2 separate regions of the Homo sapiens genome follow, and region 1 is linked to region 2. Evidence: promoter capture Hi-C in 16 types of primary human blood cells and fetal thymus (Javierre and others, 2016). All regions are on one chromosome and are shown on one strand. The core of a region is centred on a gene start or on the middle of the fragment in contact, and the rest is flanking DNA. Distances in the headings are between cores, read along the strand shown. Region 1 overlaps KCNH2 (potassium voltage-gated channel subfamily H member 2). Region 2 holds the start of FASTK (Fas activated serine/threonine kinase).

What was found. The method cuts DNA at HindIII sites, captures the fragments that hold promoters and counts their contacts. A CHiCAGO score of 5 or more calls a contact.
Region 1: a contact is called between a fragment that was not itself captured here and the fragment with the promoter of FASTK in region 2, in 1 of 17 cell types (erythroblasts). The highest score is 7.9, in erythroblasts.

What each region holds. Positions count from the first base shown.
Region 1 is chr7:150,958,122-150,964,499 of GRCh38, forward strand. It overlaps KCNH2 (potassium voltage-gated channel subfamily H member 2), which reads right to left. Exons shown (of 15, transcript NM_000238.4): 3 at 1,451-1,615; 4 at 1-381. Among named protein-coding and RNA genes, the nearest start is that of KCNH2, 17 kb to the right of the region's middle. RefSeq lists enhancers at 1-123, 3,782-4,391, 4,392-5,001, 4,777-6,378, 5,002-5,611 and 1 more and a silencer at 5,996-6,167. The HindIII fragment of the contact is 8,181 bases long and covers 1-5,341 here.
Region 2 is chr7:151,076,135-151,082,326 of GRCh38, forward strand. It overlaps FASTK (Fas activated serine/threonine kinase), which reads right to left and starts at 4,675. Exons shown (of 10, transcript NM_006712.5): 1 at 4,551-4,675; 2 at 3,366-3,788; 3 at 2,708-2,887; 4 at 2,428-2,567; 5 at 1,745-1,958; 6 at 1,487-1,646; 7 at 1,176-1,267; 8 at 967-1,102; 9 at 779-893; 10 at 490-698. The coding sequence starts at 4,632. The coding sequence ends at 591. TMUB1 (transmembrane and ubiquitin like domain containing 1) reads right to left here. Exons shown (of 3, transcript NM_001136044.2): 2 at 6,041-6,192; 3 at 4,951-5,766. The coding sequence ends at 5,415. It overlaps SLC4A2 (solute carrier family 4 member 2), which reads left to right. Exons shown (of 23, transcript NM_003040.4): 22 at 1-52; 23 at 153-389. The coding sequence ends at 233. RefSeq lists enhancers at 1-89, 90-1,065, 3,018-3,994, 3,995-4,970, 5,688-5,982 and 1 more and silencers at 868-947, 4,410-5,089. The HindIII fragment of the contact is 10,653 bases long and covers 1-6,192 here.

The sequences.
Region 1 (6,378 bases), core at 1-2,500, 120 kb before region 2:
CCGACGAGGCGCGGCGCACGCTGGCGCAGCTTTCTCGGGAGCGCGTCCGGGCCAGGCTGCAGCTGGAGCCCGAGGCGTCGGGGTTGAGGCTGTGCGCCCGGGGCGATGGGAGCTGGCCGGGCGCGCTGCGGGGCGGAGAGCCGGGACCCACCAGCGCACGCCGCTCCTCCGCGGGCCCGAGCCCTGCCACGTGGTTGTCCATGGCTGTCACTTCGTCCAGGGCCAGCGACTCGCTGCTGGGTGCCGCGGGCGTCAGGTCCACGTCCACCACCACGGCCCCCGGGGCGCCCGCGCCGCCCGCGCCGCCCGACCGCACCGACGACTCCCGGGCCGTCAGCGCCAGCAGCGCGGGCAGCTTCAGGCGGAAGGTCTTGGCGCGGCCTGCGGGAGAGGAGAGGCACGTGGTCGTGGGGATCGCGAGCAGCCCCGGAGCGGGCAAGGCCTGGGAAATGGACCCCCAGCCGCTGGGTAAGGGAAGGAGGGGAACGGGCAACCCCCCATCCCCACTTCCATTCACAATATTTTGACCTCGAGTCTCAAAAATCATTCTAGAATCCAGTCATCATAAACCGCCATATCTGAAGTGACACTTCAGGGCGGATTCCATAAATCATCCCTGTCTCTCACACCGGCCGCTGGGTGCCAGCGTCCCCATTTTAGACATGAGGAAGTGTGGACACAAAGGCGTCATGTCACTCTCTGGAGGTCACACAGCCAGTGCGTGGGGCCTGCGCCTAAGTGGGCGACACAATGCCAGGGGCCCTGCCGTCAGGGGTGGCATCCGATGAGCAGGTAGGGCCAGTTTTACTGACACTGTCATTTTAGAGTGTAAGAAACCAAGAGGTGAGCACTTTTGTCATGATGCTGAGGGAAAGATTAAAATTAAGCCAAAGAGGGCATCCTGACAGAGGAAGGGGCTCCGAGCCTTTGTTGTCAAGGGGATGGTCCAGCCCAGGTGGGCATTCCCTCAAAGCCTCTCCTCAGCTAGCCCAGACCCCCAGGAAACTTGGCCAGTCCATGAACAAGGAGCAGATGAAAGAAACTACACACAGCTGAGTCCATAGGACACAGCTTCCTACTGAGGGGAGGAGCTGCTCCCAGGTGGTCATGTTCCCCACCCTGGGCTGCTCAAGCCAGGCTGGAGAGAGGACCGCTCCCAGGGGATGCTGGGATGGGAAGCCCAACAGATGAAGCTAGGGAAACGGTGCTAGCCCACGCCAAGGACCTGTGATTCTGGGCCCTGTCATTCCACCCCTATGTGTCCATCCTGGGCCAGGGGAACCAAGCCACATCCTCAGGGTACAGGGTTCACTTCCCACCTCCAAAGGGGGGACCCCCCACCCAACCATTACATCCTCCCTTCCTGCAGAGCGTTGACCTTGGACAGCTCACAGCCCCAAAGAAATGAGACCACGAACCCCTGAGCCTGCCCTAAAGCAAGTACACTTACCTGGGGCCAGCCAGCTGGTGGGGGGGCCCCGGTGGTTGGTGTCATGAGCCGGGGACCCCACCATGTCCTTCTCCATCACCACCTCGAAATTGAGGATGAACATGATGACAGCCCCATCCTCGTTCTTCACGGGCACCACATCCACCAGACATAGGAAGCAGCTCCCTGCAGAGTGGGAGGACATAGCCCCCTTGGCACCCACTCAGTGGGCAGAGCAGAAAGCCACGCAGGATGGACCCTGGAACCCAAGTGGGCCCGTCCACTTCTGCCTCCCCGTATGGCCCTTCCTCTCCGGGATCTCCCGTCCTGATCCCCCACCCGGCCATGTGCCTGCCGCCCTTATGGCTCCCCTCAATCTGTCTACCCCAGCTTGTTGCTGCCAGGCTCCCCTACCCCTCTCTCTGCCTATATGATTTATCTAGCTCTTTCCCGGCTGCACTTTTTCTCACGCTGGCTATGATCCTTTCTTCTGCCATCTTTGATCTCATTTCCTCCCTATCTCATTTCCTCATATCCTCCCAGCACCTCTGCCTTTCCCTCAAGCGAGGCGCTGTAGCACAGTGCTTAAGCCCACAGACTTTAGGCCTACGATCTCTGGGTTCATAGCCCGGATCTGCTGCTTAATCACTTATGCTTTTTTCCTAAATTATTTAACATCCTTGTGCCTCATTTTTTCCATCTATAAAATGGGAAGAATAATAATTTTTTCTTTTTAAAATTTTTTAACTTTTTAATTGACACAATAATTGTACATATTTATGGGGTACACAGTGATGTTGTGATACACATAATGTATATAATTCTTTTCTCATGAGTTATAAAGATTAACCAAGTCAGCACATGCTGAGCGCTTAGGCAATGCCTGGCGTATGCCGCACACTACAGACGGTTAGCTGTTACTATCTGTCTCTCTGTTCTCTCTAGATTAGCACCAGCCGTTGTGTCAGCACACAAGATAAGGACAGACGTTGAGAGCAAGAATTTCAAAAACTTTACAGCAATTTGGCATCACCACAAAATCCACGCATGTGCTCTTGTATTTCACAGATGTACCAGCCTATAACATATTAGCATTAAAAAACACTGATCCTTCACCAAAGAGTCTAAGAAGCACTGCTTCTAGATCTTTCATCTTCACCTCGCCTCGCGTTCCCCTCGATCCTTGACTTTTTCTTTTCCAGTCTCTCTCTGTCCACCAAAGGCCCTGTACCAGATGAGGTCAGTCCCCTAAGCCAAGCACCCCTGGTCTCCCTCAGCTCCCTGTTGAGCACATGGGCCCCCTGCTGCCCCACCGCCCCCCGCCCCCCAACCCGTGCTGATTTCTGAAGGAGCCCCTTTTAGGCCAAGCACTCAGTTCCACCTAAGGCCCAGCTCAGAACCTCCTGCCCACAGGAAGTCCTTAATGAAACCAGAAGGCAGTTAACAGCCCGCTCCAGCTCCTCTATGGCCCCCCAGGGACCCACCAGGCAGGCTCCTCATCTCCCACTCTCCCTAGGGAGCCTCTTCCTTCCTCTCAGCTCCCCCTCTGCTCAGCTGTCTTCTCTGCCTCCCAGTGTCTCCCGTCCCCACGTTAGTGCCTAGCACCTAGAGTCATACGCCCTGGGGCCAGCACTGGCTGGTGGTGTCAGTGACAGGCCATGCTGACAGGGAGGCTGCAGGCATGGGGGAGAGGCAAGGGTGACAAACCATGCAGTCCCACTCCATCTTAGCAACCCAGCCTCACTTTTTTTTTTTTTTTTTTTCTGAGACAGGGTTTCACTCTGTCACCCAGGGTGGAGTGCAGCGGCATGATCTTGGCTCACTGCAACCTCTGCCTCCCAGGTCCAAGTGATTCTCCTGCCTCAGCCTCCCAAGTAGCTGGGACTACAGCTGCATGCTACCACACCCAGCTAACTTTTGTATATTTTGATAGAGACAGGGTTTTCACTGTGTTGGCCAGGCTGGTCTCAAACTCCTGGCCTCAAGTGATCTGCCTGCCTCGGCCTCCCAAAGTGCAAGGATTACAGGTGTGAGCCACCGCACCCAGCCTCTCCTCACCTTTCTACCTCCTAGAGCCTCCCTGGCTCACCCCTACTCCTGATCTCAAACCCACAGCAGGGGCGACAGTGGTGGTGCTGTGAGTCAAGGTAGAAGCCGGCAACAGACACCGGCAACCTGGAGGCGACGCCACCCCTGGGACTTGGAGCTGGTGCTTGAAGCCTGACAGTGAGGTCAAGGGGCTGCGTGCTGGGGAGGCAGGGAGCAGGCCAGGTGGGAAGGGCCTGATGCATGGCAGATGCTGGCCAGGCTCGGGGATTCTAACCCGCTGGGGATTCATCTAGGGGAACGAGGTCTTCTGAAACCAGCTTAAACAGGATGGCACTAGGTGAAGGGGCTGGCCAGGAACTCTCCGCCCCACCCCACAGCTCTTCCACTCACCACATCCCAGACCCTCACAGCCCCGCCCGAGGGCCCTGAGCTCTGGGGCTCTGTCTGGGTCTCCCTGCAGCAGCCACTCTTGTCCCCTGACCTCTGGCCTCTGACACACAGCAGTGGTGTTGGAAGCTGCAGGGGGCTGGGCCCAGCTGGAGACCATTTGGCACCCAGACAGCCTGCCTGGAGTTTATGCCCTAATATGGTGATGGCCGGCAGCGGCCTGAACAGGGATGCGCCTCACCAGGACTGAGGAGAGGCTGGAGACCAGGAAGCCTTAGCCCAAGAGACCCCAGCACCCACCCCAGGGACCACAGCCAGCCAGGCCCTCGAACCTAAGTCCTCCACCAGGGAGCTTGCCTCAGAGAAGTCTAGAGTCTGGAGCCAAGATGGACTCAAACTTCAGAATGGGCTGGAGACTGTCCCCAACACAGGGCCCCAGAAATTCCAACCTTGAGACCTCAGCAGCCCGTCCCCTCTTCAGCTCAAGCTGCTCAGCAAGACAGCCCAGAATGGCATTCTGAAGCCCACCCAGTCCAGGACCCCACATCTCAAAATCCCCTGCCAGGGTCGCAGAAACTCTAGGTATACGCCACCTCACAGCACAAGCCTGTAACTCACACTTACACACACACACGAGAGACAGAGAGAGAGAGAGAGAGAGAGAGAGGAGTGACTGCTGGCCCTCTTCCTTTGTCGAGATTCAAGAAATTTTTCCTTTCAAAATAACCCTGTCAAAGGCCTGGTTATTCAAAAAATGTGAACTGGAGCCCTGCCTGATGGCAGGGGCTGGGGCGGGGGAGATCTAGCGATCATCAAGGGGATGTGGAAGGAAGGAAAGTAGGGGCCCCAGATAGGCCTGGGCTCTCAGAGGCACTGCCTGCAACCACCCTGCCGCGTCGGCTGGGGCTTCGGTGAACTGCCACATCACCTGCTCCCAGCTCTTCAGCCAGGCCTCCCAGCCAGACTCCATCCCACCACTGGCTGGGTTATGGGGGGATGGGAGTCCCTTCACTTGCCCCAGTGCCACCTACTCCAGACCCCCAGGCCCTCGCTCTGCTCCCTTCTCCCACCGACTCGCCCTGGCTCCTGCCAGTGGCCCCAGCTCCCCAGGGCAGAGACGAAGGACCCAGCTGCTGCAGGCTGCAGTTCCGCTGAGAGCCACTCCGTGGCAGGCACAGCCCACACTCCCGAGGCAGCCAGCACTGGGCGCACTCAGGGGGCAGCCAGGACAGACAAGGAGGGCGGAGGGGGTGCAACAGGGGAGAGGGTTCCCAGTCTCAAAGGGAGGGGGCATGGGCTGTGGAGTCAGGTGGCCTCTGCACATTGCATTAGAATGACTTTGGGCCGGTCACTTACCGGCCCAGAGCCCCGGGGCGCTCATCTGCAACACAGGGTGATCCTGCCCACCCCCTAGGGCCGTAGGGGTGAAATGGCCTAAGATATGTGAAGCTCAGAGCCTGGCTTGAGGTCACCATAAGCTTGAGACAGAAGAGAGGCAGACAAGGGTGGAGGGAGCTTAGCAATGAGAGGCCCCAGGGCCAGCCTGGCTCATGTGGCTAATGCCAGAACACTCTGCCCTGGCCCCATTCCCACCCCAGCCCCAGCCCCGACCCCACTCCCACCCCAGCCTCAGCCCCAGCGCTGGCTGAAGACACCTTACTTTGGGTGAGAAGGTTCTCCCTGCCTGGCCCAGTTCTGCTTCCTGGGCCCTCTGAAAGGGGAGGCACCCATGGACGCAACCATCCCTGCACAGGCTCCATGGCTCCTTAGAACCCCCGTGCCTTTGGGCCCAATGGCCTGGGTGAGGCAGGCAGGCTGGCCACCTAGCAGGCCTCCAGAGGCCATGCAGCTCAGAGCAGAGCGGGAGAGCCAGGCCTGGACACATTCCCAGAGTGGCAGGTACAGCGCCATCCTGCTACCACAGAAGGTGTCCATCACTTCTCAGAACACAACGCCGGCTTGCTTTCATTTGGTGCCAATCCACACCCAGCAGTCTACCTGGGGTGGGGGGCACTGTTCCTGCCCAGCATCCCAACCCATCCGAGGTCAGGGGCTCCACCCAATTCCCCACCTCTGGGCACCGCTAGCCTAGGCCAGGCCCCAGGCAGGAGCCACATTTGGCTGTGGCAGGGGCAGGCCTTATCTCCCATGTCAGCACCAGGTGGGGAGGAAGAGGCTGCAGATGGCCCTGAGTGACCTTAGGCACCTTCTGGGGTCAGAGTCTCCGTGCGCTCCTCCGTAAATGAGGTGCTATCACAGCTTCTTCCCAGGCAGCTCCTCCCAGTCCTCTGCAAATCACTAAGCACATCCGTGCCTGCGAAGTGTTGAGCCACCGTGACCAACAAGACACGCCTGGCACCTGCCCCCAGTGAACCACCCATCCAACAGGACCCCAGTTTGATGCATGGGCAAGAGGGAAGGAGAGGGAACAAGCCAGACAGGTGGAGGAGCCCCAGGGAGCCGAGCCACTCTACCCCAGCCATGGTGGCTCCTGCGTTCCCTCTATTTTCTGT
Region 2 (6,192 bases), core at 3,425-5,924:
GCTCCGCATGGTGGTGCTCACCCGTATCTTCACCGACCGAGAGATGAAATGTGTAAGCCCTCCCGTCTGCCTCCCCCGGTTCCTCTTGCCTCCCTGTGGATCTGGAAAGGCCCCCCCACTTCCCTTCTTGACCGCCACCTCCCCACACACAGCTGGATGCTAACGAGGCAGAGCCGGTGTTTGATGAGCGGGAGGGTGTGGACGAGTACAATGAGATGCCCATGCCTGTGTAGCCGCCACCGAGGGACAGCCGAGGGACCGATGGACGAGGGGACAGGCTGGTGGGATGGGGTTCCCCCTCCCATGCCCCTCCCTCCTTTTTATTTAAGTGAATAATTTAAAGTCTTCTCCTCCCCCACTGCCCCTGCAGTAAAGTGCTTTGGCCCCCACCTATCTGTGGCCTTTTGTCTTTGTATGGGGGGCGGGGCATGAATGGAAGAGGCGGGGGACTCAGCTCTGCTCCCCGTCCCAAAACTGAGATTCACAACGGGGAAGGAAAGGAACTTTAATGAGAAATCAAAACACAGGGAACCAAAGTGCAAATCATCCACCCCCCATGGGGGGGCCATCCTGAACCCCACATCAACCCCTCAGCCCCCTTCAGGCCCCCAGCGCAGGCCCAGGGCCTGGAGCTTCTGCCTCAGGTAGCTCTTGAGCTGGGGCAGGCCTCTCTGGGACTCCAGTTCCTCGAAGGGTAGCTGTGGGGAGAGGAGAGGGCGGCAGGTTACCCGCAGGCTGGGAGTGAGGATGCGCCACGGGCCAGGCCAGGGCCACTCACCGGCAGGAGCTGGTAGCCCATCAGGCCTAGGTGCCGCTCCCTCAGGGCCCTCGAGCCCAGCAGCACCCGGCCGTCCCGGCAGAAATGCCAGCGTTCCCGCAACACCAGCACCACCCTGCAGGGGGAGGGACGTGGCTCAGGGCATGGCGGGCAAGGTGGCCAGGGCTCCCCCACCCTGCCTCCTTTACCTCTGGGCAGGGTCTCGAGTAGTGGCGCTAGAGGCAGCCTGGCCCTGTGGGCAGGACCTTGGTGGGTATGGCAGGAAGGGGTCCTGGGTCCTCACGGGAAGCACAGCACCAGAGCTGCTGGCGCACAGCAGGAAGTCTGGAGGGGAGCAGGGCCGGCGGCCTTAGCCAGGGCTCCGTCTCCCCGGGCCTGCCGCCTGCCCCTTGCTCACCTGTGCAGTAGCCTGGAGGCACAGTCAGGTCCTGGCGGTATTTCTCCTCCCCCAGCAGCTGGCGCAACCCCTCAGCTACTATGTCCTTGTGACTGAGGAGAAAGGACACCAGTAGCAGGAAGGGCCCGGCACCTCATCCTAATCTGTCCCAGTCTAGTGCCACCACCCTGGGCAAAGCCCTCTGCTGCTTCAGGGCCCAGTTTTATGGTGGCCGAGAGCTCCTTAGCTTTGGCGCTTCATGGTCCCTCTGGCTTTTCCACTCTGCTGGTCCCAGGCTGGCCCCTCCCCTTGCCCCAGGCTGCCCCATCCACCTGTACTTGCAGCGGGCACGGTCGGTGATGAGAGGCTGGGGAAAGATGGGCACTTGCTGCCTTCGGGGAAGGCGGGGACCCCGGTATCCTGGGAGCTCCAGCTCCACGGCCGTGTCCAGCAGGGAGAGGTAGCGACGCACAATCAGAGCATGAGGGGTGCCTGTGGGGAGGCGGGGACTGGGGCTCTGGGCTGCAGGCCACCCTGCTCCCCTGCCTCTCCAGCCCTCAGGGGCCCAGCCAGCCATCCTGGCTGCGTACCACTGATGTAGTTGATGAAGCCAGGGGAAAAAACAAAGTGCAGGGCTCTGAAGGGCAGGCACCGCAGTTGGCACAGTGACATCAAGATGTTGACTGTAGCCAGGGGTGCCACCCCTGCTTCCCGAGCCAGGATCCTCTCAAGGCAGGGCATAAACTGCTGTTCCAGGGGCAGGTAGTTCAGTCGCCCAAAGGGCAGGACCAACTTCTGTACCACCTGTGGAGGAAGAGCAGTTCATTACCCAGTGTCAAGTATTTCTGCAGTCATCTTTTACAAGCTAAGCCTTAGAGAGGCTTAGCCCTCAGGTTTACAACACTGCTGTAAAGACAGGACAGTCCCTCCGGCCTCACAGTTCAACAGCAAAGCAGTCACGAGCTGCACGTGACTAATCACCAGACAGGCAGAGGGGACATCGCTGTGGGGTCTGGCCCTGAAGACTTCGAGAGGGATGGGTGGAGCTAGGATGCTGCTAAGAGTGCTTTGGGAAACTGCAGATTTCCAGGAATGCATGCTGCTGACAGGAGGTGGGCAAGCCACAGAAAGGGTGTAGAAAAGATGCAGGTCCCAGGGGACAGAGAGGGTGTGTCTGCTTCAGGAAAAGGATAGCCGAGCTGCACGAGGCGCTGGGCCTGACAAGGTCCCTGAGAATGACAGAGATGCACTGGAGGGTGGGTGGCAAGCCCACCTTGCTGCTGAGTTGCGTTTCCTGAACCACCAGGAAGTGGGCAATGGCTTCCAGAAGCTGGGGCTCCCGCAACCGGTGCCGGGCCAGGTGCTGGGCCAGGAGCACCATCACGTGGGGAGTCAGTTCCTCTGGCCTTGCCTCTGTGAAGAGCAGCCTGTCACGCTGGGCCTCAGCCGGACCTCCGGCTGGCTCAATTCCACCTCAGCCCAGCCAACTGAGCCCACCTTCCTCCTCCTGTCAGCCCTCCCCACCCCCATCTGATTTTAACCCCCTCCAGCACCTGCCAGGCTGCTGATCAGATGCTGCCGTGGATACCGCAGAAAACGGGGGCAGCTTAGAGCAGCTTCCAACCCTTGCCCACCTCGGAGAAGGGGCTGCAAAGGGGGAGGTGGCTTCGGAGGGAGGCGGAGCCTTCGCTCCTGTTCCAGGGCACACACCAGGGGACCATCAGATGGAAAGCCTGAGGGGGAGAGGTAAAAGGCAGCCTGGTAACAGAGCTGTGCTGCTGTTCTTATCATGGGGTTACTTGGTGAATTCTCCACCTTTCTCCTCTCCCGTTTCCTGAGCGGGAAGGTGTGCTAGAGTTTAAGTGCAAACACTAGAGACATGTAAAGTATCATGTGGCTATGAGGTATCGAAACGGTTTGTAGGGAGTACATACAAAGATGGCAAATAGGCTTTCATCTCATACCAATTGTGACAAATTATGGTGGCTTCCTAGGGCACTCTATTAGCAGGAATCTGGGGTGGCACCCTAGCGAGGCCGGAAGGAGTGCGTTCGACTCATGATGTCTGCCGCAGACATAGGACGGGAGCAGGAGCAAGCGTTCCTGGGCAAACGCCTGAGAGGCTGGGTCTCTGTCCGTGGTCCTCTACTGTTCTCCCTATTCTTCATTAACACCTAGCCCCCCAGGCGCCCACCTCAAGCCCCTCCTCACCAAGTAAGACTGCAAGGTGCAGACACACGTGGATGGTGTGAATGTCAAAGGAGGGGCAGTTTCGGATGATGAGCTGACTCAAGTCCTGCAGTGTGACCTGCTCCACAGGAGGGGGCCGTGGCCGAGACCCCAAGAGCTGGCCCAGACGACGAAGCGCCACCGAGTAGTGGTGGGCGCGCACCTTGCTGGGGTTCTGGCCCAGCCAGCGCAGCAGCTCCCCAGGGCTCTTCGCCTGTTCCAGAAGCCGCTGCAGTCCTTGCACAGGACCTGCACTGGGGCCTCCTCCAACAGGCCGGTCCCCCCATTTGCTGGGCCCCAAACAGCAGGGCTGTACTGGAGGGATCAGCAGCAGGCCAGACAGCCGAGCAGGGGAGGTCTGAGCAGAGAGCAGGACTCGAAGCATGGAGTTGGGTGATGGAGACCCTGAGGGGCAGCCCAAAAAAGGGGGTGAGGTTTTCTCCAAAGGGGAGAAAGACCTGCTACCTACTGCTTACCTCACTCCTCATTTAGGGGGCCTGTGGTCAGAGCAAGCCTTTGTGACTGCTCTGGGCCTCTTCCCCACCCCGCCCCTCTGCCTCCTTCCACGCCTTTGAAACAGCAATCATAATCCTCAGTGCGCTCAGCGCAGCACTACTTGCAAAGCAATTCCACATGCACCATCTCTGATGCTCCTTACACGCCCATGAAGAGTAGGCAGGGCTGGCATTACCTCATTTCACCGGTGGAGAAACGCAGGCCCAGAGCAGCGAAGGGGTTAAGTTAAGCCCGAGGTCATTAACCGGGTTAGTGGTCGCGCCCAGTCTGGAGCCCAGGCGGCACCGGCGTGCACTCTCCCGACCACCTCCCTCTCCCACAGGAGGCGGCGGCGGCACAGAGGGTGGAACGCGGGCTCCGCGGCTGGACGGTGCTGGGTTCCATGCTGGGCGCTCCCACTCACCAGCGGCGTGACCTTGGACAAGTGGCTTCGTCTCTCTAAGTCTCCTCACCCGTGAAATGAAAACGCAGCGCCCACCTCGCAGGGCGCGCGTGGAGCCCGAGTGCACCGCTTTGCGATGGCGCGGAGTCGGCGAAGTCGGGGGCCCCAACACCCACCCCGGCCCAGGGACGCCAGGAGACCGTGGCCGCTGCCGCTAACACCAGCTCCCGCTGCCCTCCCGCAGCCCTCCCCGCAGGCGCCACCCCTACATGACTCCCCGGGCCCTGCGCAGGTCGCTCCCTCAGTCGGTCTCGGGGCCCGGGGGCCGGGTTCCCCCCGCGGCCTCCTCATCGGCTAGCCACCGAGTCCGCCATCTTCCCAGCAGCCCCTAGATAGCCGCCCGGACGCCAATCCCGAAGCAGCTATCGGTCTTCGGAGACGTGGCTCCCGGCAGGCACTGCGAGCCAGGGAGCCGCGAGCCCCGCCCGCGGGAAGTGCGCGCCCGGCGCCGAGGGCGGGGCCACGGAGGCCGGCGCCAAAGCCAGAGCAGAACGCTGGGGAGAAGGGAAGGCGGAGGGCCAGACCCCAGGCGCAGTCCGTGCCCTTCTCTCCCAAGGGGCGAGGACTCCCCGCCCGCCAGCCCGCACACACTCAGACACACTGCAAGAGTGAAAACTTCACAGTTACTTTAATCTGCACGGGTTCCGGGGAACTCCTCTGCCCCTCCCCGCTCCCCTTCACCAGCCTCCCACCGACCTGGCGTCCCCAACTCAGCCCAAGGAGCTGTCAGGGATTGGAGGCGGCTGGGTCCTCCGGCAGAACACTAAGACGGGCCCCCGGGGCGGCCCGGCTCTGCCCGGGGCCGAGGCAGCGACAGCAGATGCCCGACCCCGAGGAGCCCACTCCCAGTGCGGGCTGAGGGTCAGCAGCCCCGGGAGGTGGCCCCGAGCCCCGGCGGTCGCAGGGCGGGGCCTCCGCCAGTCCCGGGAGTCCTCTGCGGCGCAGGGCTGGGCTCCAGGGCGGCGGGAAGAGGCAGGCCGGAGAGGCGGGCCTGGGCAGGCAGCAGCTCCCGCCGCGGCGCGGGGAGCAAGGTCCGGAGGGGCCGGCGACGCTGCCAAGCGCCCGCGGAGGCACTACGGGCGGTACATGGCAAAGGCCAGGAGACTGAGGAGCAGGGTGAAGCCGGCCAGGCCCAGAGTGGCGGTCAGGGGAAAGAAGGGCCGGTACTGGATCTGGCAGTACCAGAGCAGCAGCAACAGCAGGAGCAGCAGGGGCAGCAGCAGGCTGCCGATTTCCAGCCCGGAGGGGCCGGGCTCGGACCCCGGCGGGCAGGGGGGATTTGGGGGACCGACTCTCGTGGACACGTGGCAGTGGAGAACGCAGTTGGGAGGGAGGTGAAGGCTGCCCAGGGTCTGGGTGTCGTCGCCTAGCAGCTGCCCTTGGTAGATGAGTCGCACCTGCTGTTCCCGGCCGGGAAACTGGGTCCTGAGGAGAGAGGGACCTGGGTAAGAGAGCAGGCCTCAGGCAATCCTAGTCCCTGGCCCCGGAACAGCACTCCCACCCTCCCCCTGCCCTCCACAACACACCGGCCCTGGCCTGGGAGGGGCCGTCTGCCAGGGGAACAAGTACAGTTGTGATCTGGGGCGCTCAGCGCCTCCAGTATAAAGGAGGGCTGGGTCTTAGGTGTCTCTGGGGGCCTTCTGCGACCACTCTCCCAACCCCTGTCTTTAGCATTGCTCCTGCCTCTTGACCTACTTACCTTTTCAAGGAGCCAATGGTGTCGTGGGGCCAGGCCCTGGCCACCTGCTCTGAATCATTGAGGAATTTCAGCCGTAGCACGAGGGGCTCCTGCGGGGAGTCCGGGGCTGGCGGTGTTGCTGTGAACCCCGTGCTGGGCTCTGGCTGTGCAGC